Regions from separate parts of the Homo sapiens genome. Here all the other regions are linked to region 3. The links are contacts of gene promoters, found by promoter capture Hi-C in blood cells and fetal thymus (Javierre and others, 2016). All regions are on one chromosome and are shown on one strand. Each heading gives the region's core, a stretch centred on a gene start or on the middle of the fragment in contact. The rest is flanking DNA. Distances are from core to core; before and after follow the strand shown. Region 1 has its middle 44 kb from the start of GMPR. Region 2 has its middle 27 kb from the start of GMPR. Region 3 holds the start of DTNBP1 (dystrobrevin binding protein 1).

Region 1 (4,340 bases), core at 1,381-3,880, 530 kb before region 3:
GGGTTCAAGCTATTCTGCCTCAGCTTACCAAGTAGCTGGGATTACAGGCATGCACCACCACGCCTGGCTAATTTTGTATTTTTAGTAGAGATGGGGTTTCTCCATGTTGGTCAGGCTGGTCTCGAACTCCCAACCTCAGGTGATCTGGCTGCCTCAGCCTCCCAAAGTGTTGGGATTACAGATGTGAGCCAGTGCACCTGGCCCAGAACCTTCTATTCAGCCGTTTTGCTGCCTACTTTAGCATTTTCTAATCTAATCTCAGAATCTGTTATATGAAGGAAATCTATTAATGGGAACCAGTCTATTATTTGGAACTAATGTTGCAAAGAATGTATTTTAAGAAACATTGCATTATATCATACAGCCACAAATAAACTTGCATTTCTGGATGTGTGAACCATATTAAAACATTTTTTATATGGAATATTTCAAATATATGTGAAAGTGGAGAGAATAATATAATGAACTCCACATACTTATCATCCAGCTCAGTAATGGTTATTAGTTATTTTTTTCTTTATATCCCCATGCATTTCCCCAGTCACTCCCAATTATTTTTATTTTTATTTTTTTTTTAGAGGCATGGTTTCACTAAGTTGCCTAGGCTGTACTTAAACTCCTGGGCTCAAGCAGTCTCCCCTGCTTCAGCCTCCTGAGTAGTTGAAACTTCAAGCTTGGGTCACTGTACCTGGCTTCTCCCAATTATTTTGAAGCAACCCTTAGACACCATATAATTTTATTTGAAATATTTTAGTATGTATCTCTGAAGACTCTATTTTAAATGTAATTACATCATCATCTTATCCCCCAAATTGTAATTCTAATTCTTTAATATCCATGTTCCTATTTTCCTGATTATCTATAAATGTTCTGGTTCTAATTTGCTTTGTTGTTTTTTGTTTTAAAGTGCATTTGAAATAGGATCCACAAAGCTCTATATATTACTGTTGGCTAATAATAAGTTCTTAAGTTTCTCTCTCTTTTTAAAATATTTAAATAGGGTCACGCTATGTTCCCCAGGCTGGTCTTCAACTCCTGGGCTCAAGAGATCCTCCCACCTCAGCCTCCCAAAGTGTTAGGATTACAGGTGTGAGTCATCATGCCCAATCCTCAAGTCTCTTTTAATGTAAATATTCTCCCTCCTTACATTTGTCTTTCATTCTTGTGATTGTTGTTGTATAGAAGAAATAGACCCTTTGTCCTGAGTTTCTCATAGTGTGGATTTTTCTGATTTCATCCCCACAGTGTTGCTTAACATGCTCCTCTGTCCTCTGTATTTTCTGTTAGATACAGGTGCTTGAACAGATTTTTTTTTTTTTTGCAAGACTATTATATAGGTAGTGTGGAATACTTCCATCAAGAATCATAAAATGTCACTTTCTAAATGTTACCAGCCATTGTTGATCATTGCTGAGAAACATTAATTCCTTAATGATTCAAATAGTGATATTTTAATTATTTCTTCTTCATTTGTTGGGTAGATTACTTATGTAAAAAGAAACTTGCCCTTGTTAAATATTTGGTTACACTGAGATACAGTTCATATAAAAAATGAAAGAAAAAAATGCTTGATTCTTTCTCCCTATTGATCAGTTTTCAAAATAGTGCATCGGTTCCCTAGAGCCTCTAAAGAATACCAAATGTGTTTCTGTTTCAGTGTTATTATAAACCAATGGATTTAAATACAGTCCATGTGTTTCAACAAATATTTTCTATTTGTTTACATCCATTTTAATTCTTCTCTTTATTGATGCTCAAATTTGTTCCTCTTTGCTCAATAAGAGCTCTTCAGCCTTAAAAAACGATCCCAGTCATTTTCCTGCCATGTGGTATGACAAGATGTTCTATGCTCATCTTGTACATTTCCAGCTCCAGATATCAAATCAGCCATTTCTCCAAAGTGCCCTGGTTTCTTTTAGTGGGAAATGGTATTTAGAAACCACAATCTAAATATGACATTTCTGAGTTTAATATAGACAAAATCTCCTCAGGCTTCACTTATTTCATATGACAAAAAGCAAAAACCAAAACACCTTATTTGAACTTGGTCAATTTATTTTCTTACTTTCAATTTTCTCATTTGTAAAATGCAGATGATAATAATCCTTGCTTATAGGTTTTGGTGCAGATTAAACAAGTCAATACATGTAAAGCATTTAGAATAGCACCTGTGCAAGCGAGCGCTTAATAAATGTTAATGATGATGGTGATTGAACACAGCATTAGCTTTATAATCAGATCTCGATATATGGTGATTGATTTTAAGATCAAAATATTCTTCTTTGACAACTAACAACTCTCCTTGATTATCCATCCAGACATCCCAAATTCACTTGACCTGCTTTCAGCATTCACATTATTGCAGCGGGGTTCAATGGAAGAAGTCAAGGAGAAAGAGCAACCAACTTCAAAGTTATTTTTTGCTTCTTGGAAGACCATCTGCTGTCATGACCCATTTCACGACATGCAAATTCATCAGCTGAGCTCAATTTCCCTTGAATCAGTGGCCCAGTAAATATAATTACTCTGCTAATTTTAAATTCCAAATGGTCAGCTCAGGTTAAAGAATGCTCATTCAGCAGTTGAAATTCTATAACGAATTGAGAAAACAGAGGGTCTACATGCCAGGATTTTGACAGAGAAGCAGGGAACAATTTTGTTTCTTGTCACCTCCTAGGCCACGGGCACACAACAAATAGGAACATTTCCAAATATTTTCCTCTGAATTTTTTTTGTGTGTATGTGTTTGAAATAGGAACTTGACACTTCAGAGAATGGGTAAGGAAATGTGTCTTCACAAACCTGGACTTTTCAAGACTAGGCTGATCTCTTTAAGAGGAATGGGGTGGTTGGTTCTAGAATAAACTATTCAAAGCCCACATTAAAAATAAAGTAATTTGTGACAATGAAACGTTTTCGAAATAATGCATTTGTTCCCTAGAGCCTCTAAGGAACATCAGTGTGTTATTGGACTGGATAATGTACCAAAAACTGCTTTAAAGGATATTATTAGGACAATTATTAGGACATCAGTGTGTTATTGGACTGGATAATGTACCAAAAACTGCTTTAAAGGATATTATTAGGACAATTGGTAAATTTGGCATAAGATTATAGATTAAGGTATTATGTCAATATTAAGTTATCTGAATTTTATTACTTTCTTGTTCTTAGAAAATATACACTGAAAAAATATACGCTGAGGAGTAAAGGGTCATGAAGTCTGCAAAGTACTTTTAAATGACCCAGAAAAACTTAATGTGTGTGTCTGTGCAGACAGAGAGAGTGAGGAGAGAGTGCATGCACACACAAGAGCTCAAGTGTGTCAAAATGTTAAAAATGGATATGGTGAATTTGGGTAAAGGGAATAGGGGAGTTCTCTATAGAATCCTTGACAGTCTGTTATAAATTTAAAATTATTTCTAAATAAAATGTTTGTTTTTGCTTGTTTTTTTTGAGACAGAGTCTCGTTCTGTCACCCAGGCTGGAGTGCAGTGGCGCGATCTCGGCTCACTGCAAGCTCTGCCTCCCGGGTTCACACCATTTTCCTGCCTCAGCCTCCCGAGTACCTGGGACGACAGGCACCTACCACCATGCCCGGCTAATTTTTTTGTATTTTTAGTAGAGACAGGGTTTCACCGTGTTAGCCAGGATAGTCTCAATCTCCTGACCTCGTGATCCGCCCACCTCGGCCTCCCAAAGTGCTGGGATTACAGATGTGGGCCACTGCACCTGGCTAATTTTTTGTATTTTTAGTAGAGATGGGGTTTCACCTTGTTAGCCAGGATGGTCTCGCTCTCCTGACCTCGTGATTCGCCTGCCTCAGCCTCCCAAAGTGCTGAGATTACAGGCATGAACCACCGCGCCCAGCCAGAAAGGATTTTTAAACCTAGTGTTATCCCAGCAGCTGAGTGCACTGGCTCATGCTCGTAATCCCAGCTACTCAGGAGGCTGGGGAGGGAGGATCACTTGAGCCCAAGTGTTCAAGATCAGCCTGGGCAACATAGTGGGATCTTCTCTCTTCAAAAAATAAATAAAATGAAATATATTATTACCCCATTAAAACACACTTTCTCCAGCTGGGTGTGGTAGCTTATCCCTATAATCCTAGCACTTTGGGAAGCCGAGGTGGGCGGATTGCCTGAGCTCAGCAGTTCAAGACCAGCCTGGGCAACATAGTGAGATCGCCCGTCTCTATTAAAAATACAAAAAATTAGCCAGGCATGGTGGTGCACGCCTGTGGTCCTAGCTACCTGTGAGGCTGAGACAGGAGAATTGCTTGAACTCAGGAGGCGGAGGTTGCAGTGAGCTGAGATTGCACCACTGCACCCCTGCCTGGG
Region 2 (4,573 bases), core at 293-2,792, 550 kb before region 3:
GCCATTTCCAGAAACAAACCGCCTTCCCACCCAGATCAATAAACTGCCTTATAATAATAAAACTCCAGTAATATTAAAACTCCAATCTCCCATTCAGCTGCTCTGCATGAATTGGACTCTTTATTGCAATTCCTCTGCCTTGATAGATCAGCTGTATCTGGGCAGCAGGCAAAATGAACCCATCGGGTGGTTACAATCCCCCTCAGGAATTTATCCTGGGGTGGTTCATTTCCAGCTTTATGAAATAAATTGCACTGGGATAAGAGGCTTTTCCTGATCATCCTATCACACTTCTCTGCCATAAAAATCCTATAAATTGGCCAGGCGCCATGGCTCATGCCTTCAATCCCAGCACTTTGGGAGACTGAGGCAGTTGGATCACCTGAGGTCAGGAGTTTGAGAACAGCCTGACCAATATGGTAAAACCCCGTCTCTACTAAAAATACACAAATTAGCTGGGCATGGTGGTGGGAGCCTGTAATCCCAGCTACTTGGGAGGCTGAGGCAGGAGAATTGCCTGAACCCAGGAGGTGGAGGTTGCAGGGAGCCAAGATTGCGCCACTGCACTCCAGCCTGGGCAACAGAGAGAGACTCCATCTCAAAAAAAAAAAAAAAAAAAAAGAATCCTATAAATTGAAATTAATGTTTCATTATTTCCTGTGACTATAATGATTTAATTGTTAAAAACTTTTTTTGGGGGTTGCTAATAGTTACAACTTTTATTAGAGACAACTGATCAAAACGACTTAAGTAAATTACGGATATACATAATTATTAAACATCAGAAGTAAAATTTCTTTAAGAGGCACCTTTTATTGGGTGCATCTTGGGCTGGATTATACTCGGGTGCTTGATGCAGAACAAGCGCATTTCTTGCTCACACTATTGGTCCACCCAACAAGATGCTTTGCTCATCAGGGTTACTCTGGGACCCGGGCTTCTGCAGGCTTCCTCTCAATGTCTGCACCCATGATCACTGAGGCAGGAGAAATGGAATGTGGCTGCCTGGAAATGATACATGTCACCTCCATGTATACCTCATTAGCCCATGCCAGTCCCAGGGCCAAATCTAACTTCAAACACAGTTGGGGAAGTGCAAACCTTCCATATGGTCAAAAGGGAAGAACTGGAATTCAGGTGACGCCCTGCATAGATAAATGGGGCTTCCCTCCCACTTCCCTTCTAATTCATGTATTCATGAATGAATGTTTATACTTTTTGAGGCAGGGCCTCACTCTGCTGTTCTGGATGGAGTGCAGTGACACAATCACAGTGCACTGCAGCCTTAACTGAGCCCCCGGCTCAAGTCATCCTCCCACCTCAGCCCCTTGAGTAGCTGGGACTACAGGCGCTCGCCACCATGCCTGGGTAATTTTTGTATATTTTTCGTAGAGATGGTGTTTCGCCATGTTGCCCAGGCTTGTTTCAAACTCCTGGGCTCAAGTGATCTGCCTGCCTCAGCCTCCCAAAGTTCTGGGATTACAGGTGTGAGCCACTGCACCCCGCCTGAATGAGTATTATTTATTGCTAGGATGAGAGAGTTCAGAAGTGATTTTATTCCTATTATTGTGTTTGTCTTTATAGATAGAAGTTATGAGAAACTTCGGTCACAAAGAGAAATGTCACTCAAGGGCCAGGCATGATGGCTCATGAGTAATCCCAGAACTTTGGAAGACCAAGTGCTGGAAGATCGCTGGAGCCCAGGAGTTTGCTTGGGCAACATAACAAGAACCCATATCTACAAAAAATTTTAAAAATTAGCCAGGTGTGGTTGTGTGTAATTGTAGCCCCAGCTACCCAGGAGGCTGAGGCTGAAGGATCTATCCCTTGAATCCAAAAGTCCAAGGCTGCAGTGAACTATGATTGTGCCACTACGCTCTAGCCTGGTCAACAAAGTGAGACCGTGTCTCTAAACAAACAAACAAACCCCAGAGAAATATTCCTTAATTCTTTGAACTCTTTCTGAATTATATGTTAAAAGTCTAATGGCGATCTGTCTATAACAAGCATTAACTTACAACGATCTACCAGCTAACACCTTGGTCATGTCCTTCTTTTTCATTGAAAGCAAAAATTTAGAAATCCAAGTTGCTAAATGATTTGTACCCAATGGTAAAATGCATCTCTTTTCCCGATACTCACATGAATATTTCAAAGAGCATCCAGAGATTCTATATGCCAGAGCAATGCAACACCATGAAGATAGGTTGGGCACGAGGGATACCTTTCTTTTGGGAAGCTGAGAACCTTATCTGTGCACTGATAAGAGGGCATGGATGAAAAAAAAATTGACTTTCCATCACTGGTATTCTCAGGTCAGTTTCAAAAAAGAGAGTGGATGCAAGTTGAACATATTGATGGAAATGGATTCCCTTTTATTATTTATTTATTTATTGAGATGGAGTCTTGCTGTCACCCAGGCTGGAATGCAGTGGCGTGATCTCAGCTCACTGCCAACCTCTGCCGCTGGGTTCAAGCAAATCTCGTGCCTCAGCCTCCAGAGTATCTGGGATTACAGGCGCACAACACCATGCCTGGCTATTTTTTTTGTATTTTTAGTAGAGACAGAGGTTTCTCCATGTTGTCCAGGCTGGCCTCAAACTCCTGACCTCAGGTGATCTGCCTGCCTTGGCCTCCCAAAGTGCTGGGATTACAGGCGTGAGCCACTGCGCCCAGCCACCCAGGGGTGCATACACCCCATTGTGAAGCCTGCAGTATTAAAATTTAATACCTGAGCCCATGAGAGGACAGATTTCAGAAATTTCTCTCTCATAGTTCTGGAGAGTAGGAAGTCTGAGATCATGGGTCCAGCTGATTTGATTTTTGGAGAGGGTTCTCTTCCTGGATTCCAGACAGATGCCTTCTTGCTGTGTCCCCACAGAGTAGGGAGAAAGAGAGGAAGAGAGAGTCAGAGAAACAGAGAGAGAGATAAAGAGATAGATAGAGAGAGGGAGATAGAGAGAGGAGACAGAGAAAGAGAGCTCATGCTAGCTCTCTGGTGTCTCTTAAAAGGGCTAGGCTGGGCATGGTGGCTCACACATGTGATCCCAGCACTTTGAGAGGCCAAGGAGGGCCGATCACTTGAGGTTAGGAGTTCGAGACCAGCCTGGCCAACATGGTGAAACCCCATCTCTACTAAAAATACAAAAATTAGCTGGGCGTGGTGGCACGTGTCTGTAATCCTAGCTATTCGCAAGGCTGAGGCAGGAGAATCACTTGAACCTGTGAGGCGGAGGTTGCAGTGAGCTGAGATCAGGCCACTGCACTCCACTCCAGCCTGGGCAACAGAGCAAGACTCCATCTCAAAAAAAAAAAAAAAAAACAAGAAGATTAAACAAGATAATGGATGTATATCAGGGGTCCCCAATCCCTGGGCTGTGGACTGGTACCTGTCCATGGCCTGTCAGGAACTGGGCCACATAGCAGGAAGTAAGTGGACGAAGGAGCATTACCACCTGAACTCAGCCTTCTGTCAGGTCAGTGGCAGCATTAGATTCTCAGGAGCACAAACCCTATTGTGAACTAGGTTTTGTGCTCCTTATGAGAATCTAATGCCTGATGATCTGTCACTGTCTCCCATCACCCCTAAATGGGACCCTCTAATTGCAGGAAAACAAGCTCAGGGATCCCACTGATTCTACATTATGATCAGTTGTATAGTTATTTCATTATATATTACAATATAATAATAACAGAAATAAAGTGCACAATAAATGTAATGCTCTTGAATCATCCCCAAACCATCCCCCATTCCTGTCAGTGGAAAAGTCGTCTTCCGTGAAACTGGTCCCTGGTGCCAGAAAGGTTGGGGACTGCTAATGTCATAGTCTTTATGACTATGCCCAGCACATAGCATTTAATAAATGGAAGCTGTAATATAATAATATATCATTATTATTTTATATGAAAATAAACTCAGATGTATGAACGAGTATTGTGAAAATGCGCATATGTGTTAAAGATAAAACACGGACTTCATTCAGATTCCACGGTCCCCATCTTGGGCTTCTTCCACCGAGACCCCTGGAAGAAGCAGCGTTTGCCATCCTTGGGGAAGCTCTAGTATAAGCCTTTTCCTTATGTTAAAATGCCAAAACCTCTGTGAAAAGTAAGGATATTTATTTAGTGTGTCTCTGATCTTTACCTGAGCTGAAATTTTGTCGGACACAGAAGAGAGAAAGCAAGCATGAAGGTTCTGTGAGCTGGGGCAGGGACTGGGGAACCCACGGGTAGAGAAGGCAATTTGCAGCATGAAATAGAGAAACTCCAAGACTTACACCCCACTTTTCCCATTTCTCGGTGTGACCCAGGGTCTTGTCTCTACCTCTGTGTTTTCTCACCTCTTTTGTTGCATTAGTCAAATGCTGTGTCCTTTAAATCCACGGCATGTCTCCCTCCCTTGTTGCCCTGGAAATGGCTTCTGTTATCCAGCCAGAGAGTTTTATTGATTTCTCTGCCTTCTTTCAACCCCACCTTAAAAACAAGCACAATGCCATAAAATGAAATTCTTGTGTTTTAAGAAGTCTTCCTTGAGAAACTTGAACACTTACAAATAAGCTTATTTACTCGCTTT
Region 3 (4,907 bases), core at 1-2,500:
GGCTGCTGTGTCAAGGATGGATTATAGGGGTGTGTATGGCAAAAGAGTAGAATCTGGAAGAACTGTCTGTGTTCCCATTGAAAGAGGATGGTGCCTTCGACCAGGATAAATATAGTGAAGATATAGAAAGAGAAGGAGGTTCCAGAAATACTTCAGGAGTAGAGTTGATTGGATTTGATGGGTTAATATGGGGAATGAGGAAAAGAGGGGAACCAGAGGTGATTTCAAGTGTCTTACCTTGAGCAAATTGGTGGATGGTGGTGTCATTTACTGAAACGGAAAATACAGGATGAGCAGATTAAAGGTGAACATGCAATGAATGAAATTTTCAATTTTGTGTATGTTGGTCTGAGATGCCTTTTGGATACATGTTGTATACATGCTTACATGAGTAAGCAACTGGTATGAATTGACGGAGAGGGAGGAAGGACAGGGCAGAAGATAGAGCTGTGGGAGTCATCGGTTCCTTGACAGAATTTACAGCGTGGTAATGGATAGACTCTATGCTATCCATCTATGGAACAACACATCTGGAGAAGAGAGAAGAGCTGGGGAGGCTGGACTGTAGCCTTGGGAGTGGCTATTAAAATAGGAGAAGGGGTGGAGCGGAAGGGAGAGAGGAACTATGGAGTGCTTAGCAAGAGAAGAAAGTGTTTTAAGGATGGGGATGATAAACTGCATTGAAAGCCACTGAGAGGTGGAGAAAAAATCAGGGCAGAGAAGTAATAAAAGGCATCAGCAACATGGAAGTCACTGGTGACTCGCGAAAGGCGATCACCTTTGGTGTGTAGGGCACAAAAGCCTGGGGGGGTAAAGAGAGAGTGGAAAGTAAGAATGTCGAGACAGTCGACTATTATTGCCATTTTATGAATGAAGAAACCGAGGCTCAATATTTGACTGTCTCATTCAAGGTGAAAGCCAGTGGGGTCAGATCCTGGACCTAGAATCCATGCAATGATTTGTGCACATCGCCTATTGAAGAGAGAGATCCAATTCTCTTCCAAAACGTAAAAGCCAACACTTCCCTCAAAGGAGGCTTCGAGTTAAATCATCCTTTCACGATGCCGCTTCCATTTTAAAGAAAAAAAAAAAAAAACGAGAAGGCCTGGTGCGGGATAGGAATGAGCCGAGGAGCTACTGGCCCTCTCGGTCGGGGGAAGACCCGCCCCTTTTCCGCAGCCCGAGCCCGGCGCAGTCCACTGCGGCTGCGCGAGCCTGGCGCGCGCGGGGCGGGAACGCGGAAGGGGCTGGGGTTGCGGCGCGGCGGCGAGGACCAGACCGGGGGCGGGGCCGGTAGTGGGAGTGCGGGGCGCGCGGTGACAGCGCGGGGTTGGCGGCGTGGGACCCAGGGGGCGACAGAGGCAGCAGCAGCCCGAGGCCTGAGGAGAGGAGACCGGCGGCGGCGGCAATGCTGGAGACCCTTCGCGAGCGGCTGCTGAGCGTGCAGCAGGATTTCACCTCCGGGTGGGTATACGGTGGGCGACGAAAAGGGACCTGAGGGGGCCGGGCCGCCGCCTGGGATGCCCCTGCCTCGCTCCCTTCCCCGCGCCACGGTCCAGGGTCCGTCCTGTCCCGCACCTCCCCGCCCCGCCCCGCCGAGGAAAGTAACGAACTTCCCGGCGTCCTCGCGTCGGGCGGCGCAAAGTAACTTAGGTCCCTGCGGGCCGCCTGTGACGCGCACCCCCCAGGACCGGGAGGCGCTCGGCGGCGCAGCGGAGCGCCCGGGGGGGGTGTGGGACCCTGCGGTCCTTTCCCGGCAGCATCAGCTGGGCCCTGGAGGGAAGTCATGTGAGAAGCCAGCGCGCCTCACCGCTTCCGCCCCCGCGGCACAGTGGCCTGCGCCCCTCGGCCCAGCAGACACCTGCTCGTGCGCACCTGGAGCTGGGCCAGCCACCCTCCCCGAGTCGGATCGCACCGCGCAGCAGCCTGCACCCTCCGGCCACAGCCTTCCGCGCCGCGTCTCGGCTTTCACGCCCGGCTCGCCGGCCTAACCCTTGGCAAGGCTGGCCGCCCCTCCCCGTTGCGTCCTTTCTCTACCTTTGCCGTGAGCTCAGCGCCTCGGCGAAGGAACTCCTAAGCAGGAGAAGCGACAGAACTTTAGGAATGCTTTTAATACCCAGCGGTTCCCAAACTTTGCTTAGAATCACCTGGGAACCTTTCAGAGTTCTGATGCCCAGGTCTCACCCCCTACCTGTTGACCAGAGTGCCTGGAGACGGCGTTTTAAAGATCCCCAGGGGATTCCAGTGGGCACCAACGCCTGGGAACCACAGGCCGAGACTCTGGCGCCAGATTGCCTAGGCATCCTGGCTCGACCACTAAATCAAACGTAGTTACTCAGCTGCCTTGCCTCAATGTACTGTTTCCGCTACCGTAAAATGGGGATAATGATGGTACTTAAAAGGTTATTACAAGGATTAATGAATTAATGTGTAAAACACGAAGCAAGCATCATGTCAGTATTGTTACTTAGTGCTTAATTTTAATTTTTTCATTCCTTTAAAGTGAAAAAGATCTGTCTTTGAAAAGGATCTTTCAACTTTAGCTTACAAATCCTGTTGGAGGATGCACTGAATGTGAGAACATTTCCACTCATACTGTTTTAAATTTCTCCCCCCCACCCCCCTTTTTTTTGAGATGGAGTCTTGCTCTGTCACCCAGACTGGAGTGCAGTGGCGTGATCTCGGCTCACTGCAACCGCCGCCTCCCGGATTCAAGCGATTCTCCTGGCTCCACCTCCTGAGTAGCTGGGACTAGAGGCGCCCGGCTTATTTTTGTATTTTTTAGTAGAGACGGGTTTCACCATATTGGCCAGGCTGGTCTCGAACTCCTGACCTTGTGATCCTCCCGCCTTGGCCTCCCAAAGTGCTGGGATTACAGGCGTGTGCCACCGTTCCCGGCCCACCCTCCCCCCCTTTTTTTTAAAGTGACAAGTTCTCGCTCTGTTGCCCAGGCTGGAGCGCAGTGGCGCTATTATAGCTCGCTGCAGCCTCCAACTCCTGGGTACAAGAGATCCTCCCTCCTAGGCTTCCTGAAGTGGTGGGATTATGGGTATTAGTCACTGCGCCCAGCCTCGTTTTAAATTTCTAATGAGAAAGATGTTAGCCAAAATTTTATCTTAATGGACAAAAATGTTAATACTATTTGCACATTGGGCGTTGAATAACAAACTGTCAAACGCTTGAGCACTTACCATGCGTCAATCATTTTTGTTAGTTTGGTGTTTAGAAAGTTATGGACGCTCGGAGTCATTCACTGATGGGTGTGCTTGCGTGCTTGCATTTTGTTCTCCCTATTTAGTAAAAGTACCTTCTTTTCAGAGCGTAAATTATTGTATTGAAAACTTTTTGGTGTGATGCTGAAATGGCCCATTTGTAGCATGAGAGTGGCCATTATTCTCCTGTTAGTACTTCATGGAATTCCTTGATGGCACAAGAGCCCATCTTGTAGTTACTATAACTCTAGGTCACATGGTTGCCTCAGAAGCATTCATGCTCCTGACCTTTGTAAGAAGGCATTTTACCCCGGAATGTAGATTCTGGAGTGGGCTCTGGACTGCTGGGGCACAAACCATCCTGGGAGATCAGGGTAACCCTAAACGTTTAGAGTTAGTTAAGGAGAGACATGCCAAAGGGATCTAGTTAGAACCCCTTGGAAACTGACTTGACTTCTTAAAGATGCCGTAGTCTGGGGCCATTTTGGAGCTAGACATCCTGAGAGGGCTTCATTAGGTCTTTTGTTGGCTTTCTCCTGTACAGGTCACTTTCAGCTGACAAACCACTGGACTGTCAGTGTGTGCCATTAGCCTGTCACCTGGTGGAGAAACAACTCATCTCCAAGTGATGTCAGTCTCCCAGTAGACCCGGACCTCTAGTGCCTGATGTTCACTTTCTTCAGGTCCTCAATTTCCTACATTTAAGCTGTTCGGTTAAACTTTTCCATATTCAGCTTGAGATCAACCTCCTTTACATAACTGATTATTTTTGCCTTGAGGAGAAAAGATGACGCTAAACACAGCACACATGTGTTTATTATATGTTGGTAATGTGGAATTCAAAGATGAAAGAGACGTGAGCTGCATCACTAAAAAAGAAACATATTACATAAATGCAATGCTGATATCATAGATAATAAAATTAACACTAATTTTTTGATATTATCAATTATGCAGTCCATAATCAGATTTGTTTTGTGCTTAGAAATGACTTTTTACAGTTGGTTTGTTCAAATCCAGATCAGATAAGTTTCACACATTAAATCTGTTTAAAAACCAATTTTTAAAACAGACGACTGTTAAAGGGCCACATGGGGAAGCTTTATGGAATCTTCCAACAATTTTGTTGTCCCAGCTACTTGGGAGGCTGAGGCAGGAGGATCCCTTGAGCCCAGGAGTTCAAGACTGGGCAACACAAAGAAACCCCATCTTTTGGCTGGGTGCGGTGGCTCACACCTGTAATCCCAGCACTTTGGGAGCCCGAAGCAGGCGGATCATGAGGTCAGGAGTTCAAGACCAGCTTGGCCAACGTGGTGAAACCCCGTCTCCACTAAAAAATACAAAAATTAGCTGGCCATGGTGGCGTGCGTCTGTAATTCCAGCTACTTGGAAGGCTGAGGCAGAAGAATCTCTTGAATCCAGGAGGTGGAGGTTGCAGTGAGCCGAGATCACACCACTGCACTCCAGACTGGGTGACAGAGGGAGACTCCGTCTCAAAAAAAAAAAAAAAGAAAGAAACCCCATCTCTTAAAAAAGAAAGAAAAAATGAAAAAACATGGCCCTGGCCACCCAGAGCTATCACATTGGACCTGGCGTTTCTGTAGAACACTTGGTGGCAGAGCAATTGTGTGGAAGCCAGAGCAGCTGCCTTCTAAAATAATTGGAAACACCGGGTGTGCAGGCTGCCCCAGGGAT

What was found. Contacts are between HindIII fragments. The CHiCAGO score rates a contact against its expected background, and 5 or more counts as called.
Region 1: a contact is called between a fragment that was not itself captured here and the fragment with the promoter of DTNBP1 in region 3, in 3 of 17 cell types (erythroblasts, M1 macrophages and M0 macrophages). The highest score is 9.3, in erythroblasts.
Region 2: a fragment that was not itself captured here is called in contact with the fragment with the promoter of DTNBP1 in region 3 in 4 of 17 cell types (M1 macrophages, megakaryocytes, M0 macrophages and 1 more); the score reaches 7.5 in M1 macrophages.

The regions. Positions count from the first base shown.
Region 1 is chr6:16,192,100-16,196,439 of GRCh38, reverse strand. No RefSeq gene overlaps it. Among named protein-coding and RNA genes, the nearest start is that of GMPR, 44 kb to the left of the region's middle. The HindIII fragment of the contact is 3,910 bases long and covers 676-4,340 here.
Region 2 is chr6:16,209,591-16,214,163 of GRCh38, reverse strand. No RefSeq gene overlaps it. Among named protein-coding and RNA genes, the nearest start is that of GMPR, 27 kb to the left of the region's middle. The HindIII fragment of the contact is 6,035 bases long and covers 1-4,559 here.
Region 3 is chr6:15,659,371-15,664,277 of GRCh38, reverse strand. It overlaps DTNBP1 (dystrobrevin binding protein 1), which reads left to right and starts at 1,250. Exons shown (of 10, transcript NM_032122.5): 1 at 1,250-1,464. The coding sequence starts at 1,409. RefSeq lists a silencer at 1,254-1,763 and an enhancer at 1,994-2,043. The HindIII fragment of the contact is 5,039 bases long and covers 1-4,314 here.